2 separate regions of the Homo sapiens genome follow, and region 2 is linked to region 1. Evidence: promoter capture Hi-C in 16 types of primary human blood cells and fetal thymus (Javierre and others, 2016). All regions are on one chromosome and are shown on one strand. The core of a region is centred on a gene start or on the middle of the fragment in contact, and the rest is flanking DNA. Distances in the headings are between cores, read along the strand shown. Region 1 holds the start of USP33 (ubiquitin specific peptidase 33). Region 2 overlaps PIGK (phosphatidylinositol glycan anchor biosynthesis class K).

Region 1 (7,295 bases), core at 1,418-3,917:
TTTTTGATAGGACCATTCAATTGTCTTCCTCCCTCCCTGTTTGTATCTCTCCTTCTTTTCTTCTTTTTCTTCCTACTCTTCATTTCTTCTTTTTTCTCCCTTTCATTAGAAGAGACTTCTTTTCTTCTTTTTCTTCCTACTCTTCATTTCTTCTTTTTTCTCCCTTTCATTAGAAGAGACTTCAGTACCTGGCCTGATGCACAACTCTAAGTCATACTATTTACATTATATTCTCCATGAACGGCACCTCTAGAATTCTGTTCCAGAATCAGTATGACTCAGCTGGGTGTCCACACACCCTCTAGAATTCTACTCCAGAATCAGTGACTCAGCTGGGTGTCCACACTTTGGAATGTATAATCTATTCTCTCAAGGGGAAGTTGATTGATTTATTTCCTAATGATAGTGTTCTTCCTTATAAGCCATTATAAGCCATCAGGAGATATTGTTTGAAGAAAAGTAAAAGATAAGCAATCTGGACTGTGGGATGAAAGGATAAACACCCAAGGGTGGGAGGCAGGAATTCACGGAAGTTAAAAGTGGGAGAGGTATTACATTATATTCTATCAGAGTGAGTTTGTTTTGTGAGAACTTGTCCACTGCAAGGACTTCACTTGGTGTCCACCTGAGAAGTACTTGCCTACTATTATCTACGCACTAGTCTCAAACTCCCGATCTCAGGTGATCTGCCCTGCTGGGCCTCCCAAAGTGCTGGGATTACAGGCATGAGCCACCGCACCTGGTGATCTTGAACAGCCTTGTCAGTTGTCTTCCTTGCATTGACACTGCCCTAGAACTCCTCCAGGACAGGTAAGCCCAGAGAGAACCTTGGTTACTAAGCAGGATGGTGGTGGGACTTGGAGGCTGAATTGAATTTGCTAGGACACTGTAAGAACAGAATACCCCTGATACATTTTCAATAGAAGAATTTCTGGGGAAGTGACTTTTGTCTATTTTTCTATTTGGTCGCCTGTTTTTTTAAAAATTGATTTCTGGAAATACATATGGAGTTGAGCCCCTTTTCAATTATATGTATTTCAAATAAATTCTATTTGCTGGCCTAACTTTTCTTCTCTCTCTGTCTCTCTTCTTTTTTTTTCTTCTGTAGATCTCCTCTGTGGACAGCTTTTTTTTTTTTTTTTTTTTTTTTTGAGACAGGGTCCTCCTCTGTTGCCCAGGCTGGAGTTCAGTGGCTCTATCTTGGCTCACTGCAACCTCTGCCTCCTGGGTTCAAGTAATTCTCCTGCCTCAGCCTCCTGAGTGGCTGGGATTACAGGCACGCGCCACCACACCTGGCTAATTTTTGTATTTTTCGTAGAGATGGGGGTTTCACCATGTTGGTCAGGCTGGTCTTGAACTCCTGACCTCAGGTAATCCACCCGCCTTGGCCTCCCAAAATGCTGGGATTACAGGTGTGAGGCTCTGTGCCCGGCTGGAGACAACTTTTCATCTCCTAACGGCATCTTTTTTTTTTTTTCCCAGAGAATATCTCACTTTGTCACCCAGGCTGAAGTGCAGTGGCACAATCATGGCTCACTGCAACCTCAAACTCCTGGTCTCAAGTGATCCTCCACTCTTAGCCTCTTGAGTAGCTGGGACTACAGGTGCCTGTCACCATGCCTGGCGAATTTTTGTATTTTTAGTAGAAATGGGGTTTCGCCATGTTGCCCAGGCTAGTCTCGAACTCAAGTGATTCACCCGCCTCGGCCTCCCAAAGTGCTGGGATTACAGGCATGAACCATGGCGCCTGCCTGTGAAACTTCTATTCTGTGAAATTTCTATTCTCCTCAGTGAACCGAGGATAGGCAATCATTTGTGGTGCAAATTGAGGCCTGAGTGTCAATCCCTACCTAGAATTTTGTATCATGGTTAATTTATTTCATTTTTACCATAAAAATAAGTAGAAGCTTTTATATTTTCTACCTATTCCAATGGAGACTGAGCATCTTGCATGATACTTTGGTACATGCTCCCATTTTGGAGACCAAAAAGTCAGATGTCATGAGACAGATTGAAACTGGCAATTTTAACAATTTTTTATTAATATAACCTTTTTTATTCATAGATTTGAACCTCAATCGAGTGCATTTTAACAGTTACATAATTAGAAGGCAGGACTCCTTCCATGCTCCAGGCATTAAGCAGATACTAAGGTTTCAATAAATATTTGATTTGATCCTCTTGATTTTAGCCTAAGGAGAAAATGGTGAGATAAATTTCTTCTTTGCATAGGTGGAAAAGGGAAACATAATTGCTTTCAGAGAATCTAGGTCCTAAGAAGTTGGGGGAAGAAAGATGAAAGGAGGAAATACAATGTTGAATTGGGATAAGTTAAGTCTAATATTTCTTTGCTCAAGTTTGGAAACCTGAGGCCCTTCAGTGGCCAGCCTTAATGCAGTTTTTGTAATGCATCGAGACAAGACCTTATAATGGTCGTAGTGTGTGACTGTGAAAGAGAAGGAGAAAACATGTGAAAAACGAAAAAAAAAAAGCTCACAGCCTCAAACTGCTGCACATACCCTGTACAGTTAGTTTGCAGTCAGAGTAGGGAGCCGGCCTGGGTCCCCGCACCTGGGCCTGGCTCCCGTGGCCCCGCCCCTGGGGCGGGCTCCCATCGAGGCTCCGCCCCCACCTCCCCTATCGCCGGAGACGCCTGCGGCGGCCCCGGAGACACCGGAAGGAGCCGCGGCTGCTGCGGGAAGTGGCCAGTTCAGGAGGCGGACCCCCCGAGGGCAGCGCTGCGGGGCCGTTTTCCGGCCCTCCTGACGCGACACTGCCCCTCTCCGAGAGCTGAGAAGGAAAAGAGGAGCTTGCGGAGGTGCGGCTGCAGGCCGTTGTTGGTCGAGCTGGCGGGTCCCGCGGGCCAGGCCGTGGAGGTGAGCGCGGCGCTGCTGGGAGGGGCGCGGGGCCCAAGGGCGTTTCGCTCGCGTCCGGGGTCCGGTCTCTGTTCTCGCTTCCGCGCGCTGGGGTTGCGGCCGCTGCAGCAGCCTCTTTTTCTTGGTCCTGGGTGGCGGCGGGTTCGCGGGCGGGAAGAAGGCCTTGGCCCCTCGGTGCTCTGCGTTGCAGAGATAATCTAGTGGTCGCCCTGTCAACGGTCGGTGGAGGATGGGAACCGGTCGTTGATTTGAGGAAGGGTCCTCAGGGGTTCTTCCCTGGAAGCGGGAGGTGCAGGTGAGCCCGAGAAGCGGGGGCTCTGCTCCCTTCCTCGGTCTCCCCACTCAGGCTTGCCAGTCCCTCTCAGTGGGTGACTGAAAGCCCTGCAGCGCGCCGGCTCCTGGGTTCTGGTTTCGCTTTTCGGCGCTGTTGAGGGGGCCGGCCCCGTTGTTTGTTGTTGTGAACGGAAAAACCGAGGTGTCATCGTCCCTGGAATTTTTCTTCGACCAATGTTTGATCTTGACTGAGAGGTTACCCCTTACCTTCTGTCCATCTGCAGCCTTTGTTTGGATGAAAGATCCATAGTGTGTGGTTTCCCAGACCTTTACTTATATTTCTCGTATACAAAACGCTCTTCATTTGAATATTTACAGGGTTTTACGTTGAGCTCTTGGACGATGAGATTTTCCTGGGTGTTTTGCACTCAAGTACCGTTGGAGTTTACATTCTCATAGAATCAGTATTAGGCCTGGAAAATTGAGCCAGAGGGTGAAATTCTGGCAGGAGCATAGACTTAAATTGAAGGTGAATTTTACCGTAACGATCTCTAGGCCTTTTGCTTAATAACTATGTGGATGTAGAGAATTTTTAAGTTTAATCAGATTATTTTTCCTTTAAGAAAAACGTGTTACAAAAAGTAACAAGGCCGTCCTAGTTCCGTTTTTCCTACTGTCTTATTTGGAAAGGTCTGACCAAGTCACATTATCGTCATAGGCTATTTGATTTGAGCATAATACAAATATTGTTAGTGAATTCATACTATTATAAATAAGAGAGAAAATAGGAATCTTAAAGACAATGCTAGTTTTATGAAAAAATAATAGAAATAGTTACACAATGCTAGGAGCTTTGTATTATTTCATTACTTTGGCAGGATTGAAAGAAAGGTCAGGGCTGGGCACGGTGGCTCACGCCTGTAATCCCAGCACTCTGGGAGGCCGACGATCACGAGGTCAGGAGATCGAGACCATCCTGGGTAATACGGTGAAACCCCGTCTGTACTAAAAATTACAAAAAATTAGCCGGGCATGGTGGCAGGTGCCTGTAGTCCCAGCTACTTGGGAGGCTGAGGCAGGAGAATGGCGTGAATCCGGGAGGCAGAGCTTGCAATGAGCCGAGATCATGCCACTGCACTCCAGCCTGGGCAGCAGAGCGAGACTCTGTCTCAAAAAAAAAAAAAAAAAAAAAAAGGACAGTACAAAAAATATTATTGGAATAAAATATTTGACCTGATATGTGCAAGAGGGATAGTCTACTTAAGATTGCTTCCTATTTATGATCTGGTTTATGGCCAGTTTCACTTTTTTTCTGTCTTTTCTGAACTTTTTATAACTTAACAGTAAGCAAGTCTTTTTATATAACTGCAGTTTAATGACATTAGATTGTAGTAAATAGGTGATTTTAAATATTTGAAATTCAGAATTGAGATGATAATTCTTACATTTATGTAGTAGTATTAGAATTTTCTGTGACCTTTCACTTACACAGTCTTACTTGATCCTCATGCCAGTCCTCTGAGCTCCGAATGCCAAGAAATAAAGTCTTTCCCCATGACAGAAACATTTCAAGATTGTGTAAGGATCAGAATTTCGTAAAGCCTGAAATAATGTTGCCAAAGCAGCTTTTGATACAGATTGGGAATTCAGATAGATTAAGATTGGAGCACTGTGAACTATAACATATGACAAGACTGTGGACTCTTCACAAGAAAATGAAGTACATAAAATGCTGAAAGATTTTTGGTGAGAAATGTGAAATGTAACCATTTCTAAAAAGGAAGGGAATAAGTAACAGCTCTATTTAGTGTAGTTTTTAAACTTTAAAAGTGTACATGTGTCTGCAGGAACATTTTGATAAGTGGGAAAACTCCAAAGAGTGTGAGATGAGTACAGTTGCTTTTAACTATCTATAAAAAGGCACATGAATTATGTGCTATATTGTATACTGAGAACTAGTCTTTAAGAAACAATATGTATATCAAAATAAATCATGCTGTCAAATGTTCAGAAGGTTAAGTTAGGTCAATATTTTGAGTCTACCAGGACAAGGCCCTTTGGAAAACAAAAAGAATGAAACGTGGTTTCTGCCTTCAAAGAACTTGTAGTCAAGTGAGGCAATTTTTTACACAACAGTAAATGCCTTATGAGTTTTTATAAAAGTTCCTTAGGAATTTAGGTGAGGTAGACATTACTTGTGATTGGGGCTTGGTGAAGGTAGTATTTGAGATGAGTGAGCTTTGAAAGGTAAATATTGGAGGATATTTGTAATGTGAACAGATTAATGAGCTCCTTGAAGGGTACAACTTACATTTGAGAAAACATCGGTAGAACAATGTGGCTGATATTCATAGTTTATGTAAGTTAATAATAGATAAAGAAGACAAATTATGAAAGACTTCACTGAAGGTGTTTGATCAGAAGAGGTATGTGATCCACATGAAAGGAAAATGAGCTGTAACTGTTAGAAGATTGAGACTGGAAGACTGCTGGGGTGGCTTTATGTTAAGCTAGATTGTGACCATTATTTTTGTAGCCCTTATGGTTTCTCTGAAGTGCATCTTGAACTTGGACCTGAGATGACATGGGTGCAGGTGAGATGCTATAAAGCACAAGTGAGGAAGCAGGTAGAATCAGAGAAGGAGGAAAAAAGGTTAATAGTGGAAGGCCAACTGGAGGCTGCTTAAGCCTTTGGAGATTTTTGTATAACTGCCTCAGAGTTTTGTATAACTGCCCCAAATGAAGGGGAGCTGGGTGGTTTTCCATCTACAGTCAATCCTCACTGATAAAGATTGCCTTTATCTAAAAGGCTCCCAGAACTTCCCAGGTACACTGGTTAGGTAGGGCTTGGCAAGCTCCTGAGGTGCTGGAGAGCTGAGGAGAGAAGTAGTTGAGATGGGAAGTTGTCAGTGTGTTAACTGTGCATACCAGCTACAAGTAAACATTGAAGTGAGCTGAAAGGAGATGGTCCAGGTATCAACTCTGTGTCTTAACAGGCATTCTCATTGAATAATCCAGATGTGAAATAAAAGCCTCAATTTAGATAGAGACCTAGAAGAAATGTGAGATGAAATGTGGTTAAAAAAAAAAATGCCGAATTTAGAAACTGATAGAAAGTGAGGAGGGGAGCCAGGTGCTGTGGCTTGAGCCTGTAGTCTCAGTCACTTGGGAGGCTGAAACAGGAGATTTGCTTGAGCCCAGAAGTTCAAGTCCAACCTGGGCAATATAGAGAGCCTCCCATTTCAAAAAAAGTAAATGAAAAAAGTAAGGAGGGATCTAAGATGGTACTGAGGTTTAAAAGTTAGTTAACTTGTGAAAAAGAAGGGTTGACAGAAGGACACTGACTTTCAAATTAGTTTTTTAAGGAAAGTGAAAAAATTGCATAGTATTCAGGAGAGTGATGATAAGAGTGTTGATGACCAGTCATTCAAAAGGAAAGCAGGGTGGAGACTTGAACAATGCTGCCATCCCCACAAACTTATAATGTCTGGCCCATGCTGGATTATAAGCATTTGTTAAATTAATTTCTATCCCCCAGGGCTTATCACAGTCCTGAAATACAGTAATGTGGTGAAACTATAGGGCTGAATGTGACCTAAAATAAGACCATTTCCCACAGGTTTTAACTTTTATAAAATCCTAGAAGAGGAATTTCTTATATATTTTACTTTTTTGTGAAAGGGTCTCACTCTTGCCCAGCCTGGCGTGCAGTGGTGCGATCTTGGCTCACTGCAACCTCCACCTCCTGCGTTCAAGCAGTTCTCACCACTCAGCCTCTGGAGTAGCTGAGATTACAGGCGCACGCCACCATACCCAGCTAATTTTTGTATTTTTTGGTAGAAATGGGGGTTTCACCATGTTGGCCAGGCTGGTCTCAAACTCCTGACCTCAAGTGACCCTCCCACCTTGGATTCCCAAAGTGCTGGGATTACAGGCATGAGCTGCCATGTCTGGCTGGAATTTCTTATATTTTTTATGGAAGCATTACTGTGTTTAGATGAATCAGTTTTGATTAGTTTTAAAATCAATATTATAGTCTGGTAAACAATAAAAGAATTGATAATTTTTCTTATGGTGGTTCTCATTTGAATATGGTGATAGCATTTGTTTTCTCATATTCTTTCTTTCTTTTTTCTTTTTGCTCAC
Region 2 (7,295 bases), core at 1,282-3,781, 620 kb after region 1:
GCTCAAGCTGCCATGCCTGGCTAATTTTTCTTTTACTTTTTTTTTTTTAGACAGAGTCTCGCTGTGTCGCCCAGGCTGGAGTGCAGTGGCACAATCTTGGCTCACCGCAACCTCCGCCTCCCGGGTTCTAGCAATTCTCCTGCCTTAGCCTCCTGAGTAGCTGGGACTACAGGTGCATGCTGCCATGCCTGGCTAATTTTTTTGTATTTTAGTAGAGACGGGGTTTCGCCGTGTTGCCCAGGCTGGCCTCGAACTCCTGAGCTCAGGCAATCCACCTGCCTCTGCCTCCCAAAGTGCTGGGATTACATGTGTGAGCCATCTTGCCAGGCCTCTTTTACATTTTTTTTAGAGACAGGGTCTTGCTATGTTATCCAGGCTGATCTAAAACTACTGGCCTCAGGCGATCCTCCTGCTTGTGTCTCCCAAAGCACTGGGATTAGAGGCATGAGCTGTGGTGCCAAGCCTCATTTTCTTAGTGATGTCTTTTGAAGGGTAGAAATTTAAATGTTGGTGAAATCCACTTATTTTTTCTTTATGCTTAGTACCTATTATGCAAGCAGTCTTTGCTTAACCAGGGTCATTAGGATTTTCTTGTTTTCTTCTAGAAGTTTTATAGTTTTAGCTTTTATGTGTAGGTCTGTGATCCATTTTGAATTAATTTTTGAGTATTGTGTGAGGTAGGGGTTAAGGTTCATTTTTTTTTCCATATGGACATCCAAATATTCCAGTAACATTTGTTGAAAAAATTACAGATGGTCTCCAACTTACTTACAATGGTTCGACTTATCATTTTTGACTTCATAGTGGGTTTATCATGGTATTAAATTCATTTTCAATTTACAGTATTTTTTATTTACAATGAGTTTATTGGGACATAACTCCATCATAAGTTGAGCAGCATCTGTATTTATTCCTCATTGAATTATGTTGATCCCTTTGTCAAAAAATCATGTTTTGGGGGTCTATTTCTGGACTTTATTTTGTTGCATTGTAATATTTCTATCTTTATACCACTATTACATTCTTGATTATTGTAGTTTTATAGAAACTCCTGAAATTATATAAGTCCTCCAAATTTTTTTTTTCATTTTCAAGGTTGTTTTCAGTGTTCTAGGTTCTTTGCATTTTCATATAAGTTTATGAATCAGCTTGTAGGTTTCTTAAAGTAAAAAAAGAAAAAGAATAAAAGCCTACTGGGATTTTGATTGGGATTGAATTAACTTTATATTGGGCTGTATCACAGCTTAACAGTATTGAGTCCTCACAATCCGTGAGTATATCTCTACAGTTATTTAGATCTCATGTAATTTCTCTATATTGTTTTATTGTAGATATTTCCTACACATTTTATTAAATTTATTCCTAAACATTTTGTATGTTATTTTTAAAACATTACATTTGTTTGTTGCTCAAATGCAGAAGTATTACAATTGATTTTATATTGACTGTTTTTCTGAGATCTTATTGATTTGGGGTCAACCCAATTCCAATCAAAACCCCAGCAGGCTTTTTATTTTTTTATTTTTCGGTAGAGATTGACAAGCTGATTCCAAAATTTATATGGAAATGTAAAGGACCTACTATAGTATATATTACATTATTGAACATATGGATTCTAGTCTATTTATAATATTTACTAGGAAATTAAATCAAAAGTTAAATTTACATATTCAATAGTAACATCTCTTTGAGATTCGGGTAAAATTGATTGTGAAGAATATGAAACTATGATCACATGATTCGCTTAAAATTGCTGATAGTAAATTGATACAATTATAAAACTTTATGAACCAAAAATTCACCAAAATGATTCAAGTAACAGTTGACAGGATTTCTCCTATACTTTTCTACATGTTACTATATTTTTCAAAGTGATTAATTTACTCATCAGTATAATTCCACATTATCTCAGCATTTTATTTTGTCATTTATTTTATATTGTTATTTACAGCTGTTTGTCACTTCAGTTATTCAAAAGCTCATTAAAATGAAATTTCAGAAATTAGATGTGATTCGTTTAATTTATAAAGGCACCAAAACATAATTAAATTACTCATTTTGTCATTTTGCATATGGATAAAGTTCTTATTGTTATAGTTTCAAAATGGATTGGTCATATCATGGGTAGTTTTTTGTTTTTGTTTTTTAGCAGTTTATTTCACTGCCCTATCTGTAATTAACAAAAGCGTCTATTGAGTTGCTTTATGACTTCTAAGAAATCAGTATATATAAATAGTATAGCACAACATAGTACCATATCCCTTTGTGTTAATAAAACATCTCTAAATATAAATTGGCAAATATGTTTACTAGGAGTAGTAGTTTCCAACTAATGTTTATTAATATTCTTAAATATGTCAAAGCAAAGTTAATTTTAATTTAAACACTAAATGCATAGCACCTAAACTTTTTGATTGTATAAAATCTACAAATCATATGATATTTATAAAACAATTAGAGGCAAATTCATTTGGATTTTTAGACGATAAAGTTCTGTATCATATGGAAAAATAAATTCTGAGACCCTTAAGGTTTCTTTTAGTTCTTTGATTTATGTCTTTTTGATTTATGTGACTCTTCTGATCTTTGCACTAATTGTAATATTATTGTTCCACTCCACTAAATTAAATCTTACCATTCTAAATGAGTTAACAGACTTACTTATTGTCTACTATCTGACATTATAGGGGATATTACAATATAATAATAAAAGCAAAGTCATTGGAATCAATAAGCTCCTAAATTCAGATCCTCTGCCGTTTACTAGCTATGTAACCTTGGGAAAACTACTGGACCTCTTCTGTCCTCAGTTTCTGCATCTGTAAAATGAGAATAATAACTCTACCTCATATAGTTATTAAAGTAATTTTTATTTTGCTTAGAAAGCACTTAATTCTATGCCTCAAATATAGTGAAGCACTCAGTAAGTGTTAAGTATTATTGAGAGAACTTATCTCACACACTGATAAAAATTAATTATTGCTAGAATTCTATTTGAACTGCATTTTAGCCATTTAGCTGGTTATCAATTCTGCTTTCAGTAATATAAACTAGTTATTTCATATTTGGTGGATTCTCATTTATAGAAATACTATACAGAATTTGGAAATTGTGTTGTACCAGAAGATGGCAGTAGTATCATATATTTGTATATAGGGAACTGTCTAATATTTTTAAATGCTGGCGATCAAGGTAGGTTATACCTTCAAATAAATTATGATTGTTGTTTTTTCAGGCAACTGGTAGAGAAAAATAATTTTGATATTGAATTGTCAGTTTATAAAGGTTGGTAAAAATTTCTCTCTATATGTAAATTTTTTTATATGGCTTTTATTATGGGGGAAAAATGGACCTGGTAAATGATACAGACCTGCGGTCTTTGCTTATGATATCCTTTATGTTGGATATCAATTTTGGGTCACAAAAATTTTTTATAAAGGATGGTAAAAATTTCTCTCTATATGTAAGTGTAGGCTTTAAAAAAACCTAACAATATGGAAGTTTATCTATGAAATAGATGAATCTATCAGATACTTATGGCATATTTTTAGATATTAGTTTCCATGTTATTAAATACTTGACCAAGAAATTGAAGGGTCAAAAAAAGTTAAGGGGTGTTTGTGTGTGAGGATTATTTATTACTAATTAGTAATAAGACAATCTTTATTTCTAGCTTATCATTGGGGAAAGTGTATTCCATTTTAAAAATTGATTTATACAATAACACTTTAGGATTGTAGCTGTTAGGTAAAACAAGAAGGAAAAGACATTTACATTAATATATAAATCTGTAATCCCATTTCAGAAATGTCAATTTTTGTTGGCATAATGGTGTGCCTTGCTACTGGGTTTTCAAATATTCTACAAGTGAAGTATGGCCAAATTGCCCCCTCCTAGTGCTAGAAGAAACTTTTAAGGCAACATGATCTAGTAGAAAGAGCACGGAGATGAATGGACTTGCATTCAAATTTTGCTTTTTTTGGGTTCCCAATATGGTTTGACTCTGTGTCCCCACTCAAATCTCATCTGGATTGTAATCCCCATGTGTGGAGAGAAGGAGGAAGGTGATTGGGTCATGGTGTGATTTCCCCCATGCCATTCTTGTGATAGTGAGTGGGTTCTTATAAGATCTGATGGTTTTATAAGTGTCTGGCCTTTCCCCTGCTTGCACTTCTCTCTCCTGCCACCATATGAAGAAGGTCCTTGCTTCCCCTTTGCCTTCTGCCATGTTCGTAAGTTTCCTAAGGCCTCCCCAGCCATGTGGAAGTGTGAGTCAATTAAAATGCTTTCCTTTATAAATTACCCAGCTTGGATATTTCTTTATAGCAGTGTGAAATGGACTAATACAGTACCTTATTTAATCTCTCTAAGACTCAGATACTTTATCTGTCATAGGGTGATCTACTCTCTACCTTCTGAGTTATTTTGAAGATTGAAGGTAGTGTATATAAAATGAACATACTTTGTCAATGCCTTTTTAAAAGTGTGCCATCTAAAACTCATCACAGTCATATTGATGTCTTCCTCCAGTGCAAGAGATACAATGAGCAATACAATGCCATCTTTATTTGGTGTATTATAGTTCTGTTTCTATAGCTTGATTTGTGTTTTTATCAGCCATGCCATCTATAGCCCATTCTGACAGGAATTATTATTAGCCTGACTTTCCCATACTTACCAGTGTAGCTGACTTAAAAAACAAAACAAAACAAAACAAAAAACAACTCAATTTCAGGATTTATGCCTATTTCTTTATGTTTTTATCTTACTAGTGTTAATTCAGTATTATAGCCTATTAGTCTTTTTTAATACTCATTCTGACATTGCCATATTAGTATTGAACTATTTATGGCTTTTATTGTGGGGGAAAAATGGACCTGGTAAATGATACGGATCTGTGATCTTTGCTCATGATATCCTTGATGTTGGATACCAATTTTGGGTCACAGCTGTTAACTTTTATTTGTTAGAAAGCTGATTTCTCAGGGCTTAATCAAAAAAATCAAAATTTAATAATAAAAATTTTTTGAATAATGCCAAAGTGGACCTAAAAAGTCAAAGTAAGGTTATTTTTGTGAGCTTTTATTAAATTAATATAGTAAATATTGTTTAAAGTATGTTTTTCTACAGATGTTATAGATAAATTACTATCAAGTAATTAAAGATTTTCATTTTGAAATTATTTTTCTCATAAAAATAAAGGAAAATCAGGGGACTTACCAACATTGACGAGCTGTATTATGCTCCATCTTTCTCTGCTTTAAATTCATTCATTATATACAAAGTTCTTGTTATACTCAAAGATATTCCAGGCTTGGTACTTTCTTTAATTTGATGAAATTGTGACTTATTATTCTGAAAGTACTTTTACTAAGGGAAGCGTGCAGCTTATATTGTATGGAATGCCTTTTTCAGTTCCTTCATTTTAACTTCAATATTAAGAGCCGTTCTCTGTTCCTTATCTGATGGCATCAGCTTCTAATATTAATATGTTCTAGTATGATTTCCCAAGAAGTAAAGAGCAGACAAAATAATGAAATATAAGAGTTCTTAGGATATGATCTCAGAATACCTATGTCACATGATAACTAAGTGTGCTGGCTGAGAATTATATTGTACTACACTGCAAGTAGTAATGGACTTAGTTTGCTTGGCCTGAACTATATTGCCAGCCAGAGATTCAGAGATACTTGGTAAGCAGTTTAAACTGGGTTTTATTAAAATTAATATATCTAATTTTTATAATGTTTATTTCTTTATAGCAAAGATGTGTATATTTAGAGCATGTATATTGAGAGATGGAGCAAGAAAATAGTATTTTATATTTCTCTTAGGTGATTTAAAGATTGCATGCTTTATAGCAATCTTTGGTACTTTTCCTTTAAGGTACTGAAACAGGTGATAAGGAACTATACAGTGTGACATACAGTTGTAACTACTGTAATTGCTATGCATAAGCAAGGTATTTTAAAAGCTTATATCTAACTAAAGGGAAAGCTCTAACTTATGCTTTAAAAAATAAGTGATATTCACAATGATTTCTCTTTTGCATGTAAAAACACTGATACGTATCTTCTAAATCATAGAAAATGATTAAAATTAATCTTGTATGGTTTTAGTGTCAAATGTAGTGGTTTTTTTTGTTTTGTTTTTCTGCTATTTCTTTGAAAGTTAGATATAGTAAAACCTTGAATATCCAGAAATTAGGTAACTTCTGGTAATAAAAGAGTACATGACGTTCCCATGAGTTAACACTAAATATGAAAAAACCCACTTTTACCTTAGATGTTGTATTAGGTTGTTCTTGCACTGCTATAAAGAAATACCTGAGACTGGGTAATTGGCTTATTGTTCTGCAGTCTGTACAGGAAGCATAGGGGTATCTACTTTTGGGGAGGCGTCAGGAAGCTTCCAATTATGGTAGAGGGCAAATGGGGAACAGGCACATCATATGGTGAGAATAGGAATGAGAACCGGAGCAAGTGTAAGTGAGCGGGGCAGGGGGGTTGGGGGAGAGTAAGAGAGTGAGAGCAAGAGAGAGAGGGAGGGAGGAAGGCAAGGGTTTGGGAGAGAGTGCAAGAGAGAAAGAGTGAGTGAGTGTGAGCATGCACTGGGGAGGTGCCACACACTTTTAAACGACCATATCTTGCGGGAACTCACTCACTATGGTGAAGACAGCACCAAGCCATGAGGGATCTGCCCTCATGACCCAAACACCTTCCATCAGGCACCACCTCCAGCATTGGGGATTACAGTTCAACCTGATATTTGAGCAGGGACAAATATCTAAACTATATCAGATATAAAAATACAGCTTGAATTCAGTAGCCTTTGGCATTCATAGTTTCACATTTCATTAGAAGGAAACATTTCTCAATAAAAGAACACCCTGTAATATTAGAATGAGATACAACATTTCACTTTCTCGGAACAAAAAATTAATGTAAATGAGTTTAGAGGGATGGTTTGAAGTTAATAATAAAGAATAATCAATTGACTTCACTTTTGTAATGTTGCTGACAGGATTTTTCTGAAAATTATTCCGTTACAAGATACCTAGATGCACTATAAATTATATTTTAAAAAGATCTTTTTAAATGCTTAGCTGAGCTGCCAAGAAAGTAAGTGTGTAGAGACAAACAACATTTGATGAATAGCATTGCTGGCTTCTTCCACATTGAAGCAGAGCTGGTGGCACCCCCTCATTCAGTGGTAAGGACTACATGGGTTCTACTTCCTACAGTGTTTCTAGATAGTAACAGCTGGTGTTCTAAACATGCAGCTTCCCTGAGCAG

The links. The method cuts DNA at HindIII sites, captures the fragments that hold promoters and counts their contacts. A CHiCAGO score of 5 or more calls a contact.
Region 2: a fragment that was not itself captured here is called in contact with the fragment with the promoter of USP33 in region 1 in 1 of 17 cell types (monocytes); the score reaches 6.6 in monocytes.

What each region holds. Positions count from the first base shown.
Region 1 is chr1:77,755,224-77,762,518 of GRCh38, reverse strand. USP33 (ubiquitin specific peptidase 33) reads left to right here and starts at 2,667. Exons shown (of 24, transcript NM_201624.3): 1 at 2,667-2,876. RefSeq lists a silencer at 2,478-2,757 and an enhancer at 6,071-6,120. The HindIII fragment of the contact is 6,279 bases long and covers 1,910-7,295 here.
Region 2 is chr1:77,139,549-77,146,843 of GRCh38, reverse strand. All of the region lies in intron 9 of PIGK (phosphatidylinositol glycan anchor biosynthesis class K), which reads left to right. Among named protein-coding and RNA genes, the nearest start is that of PIGK, 76 kb to the left of the region's middle. The HindIII fragment of the contact is 6,890 bases long and covers 1-5,976 here.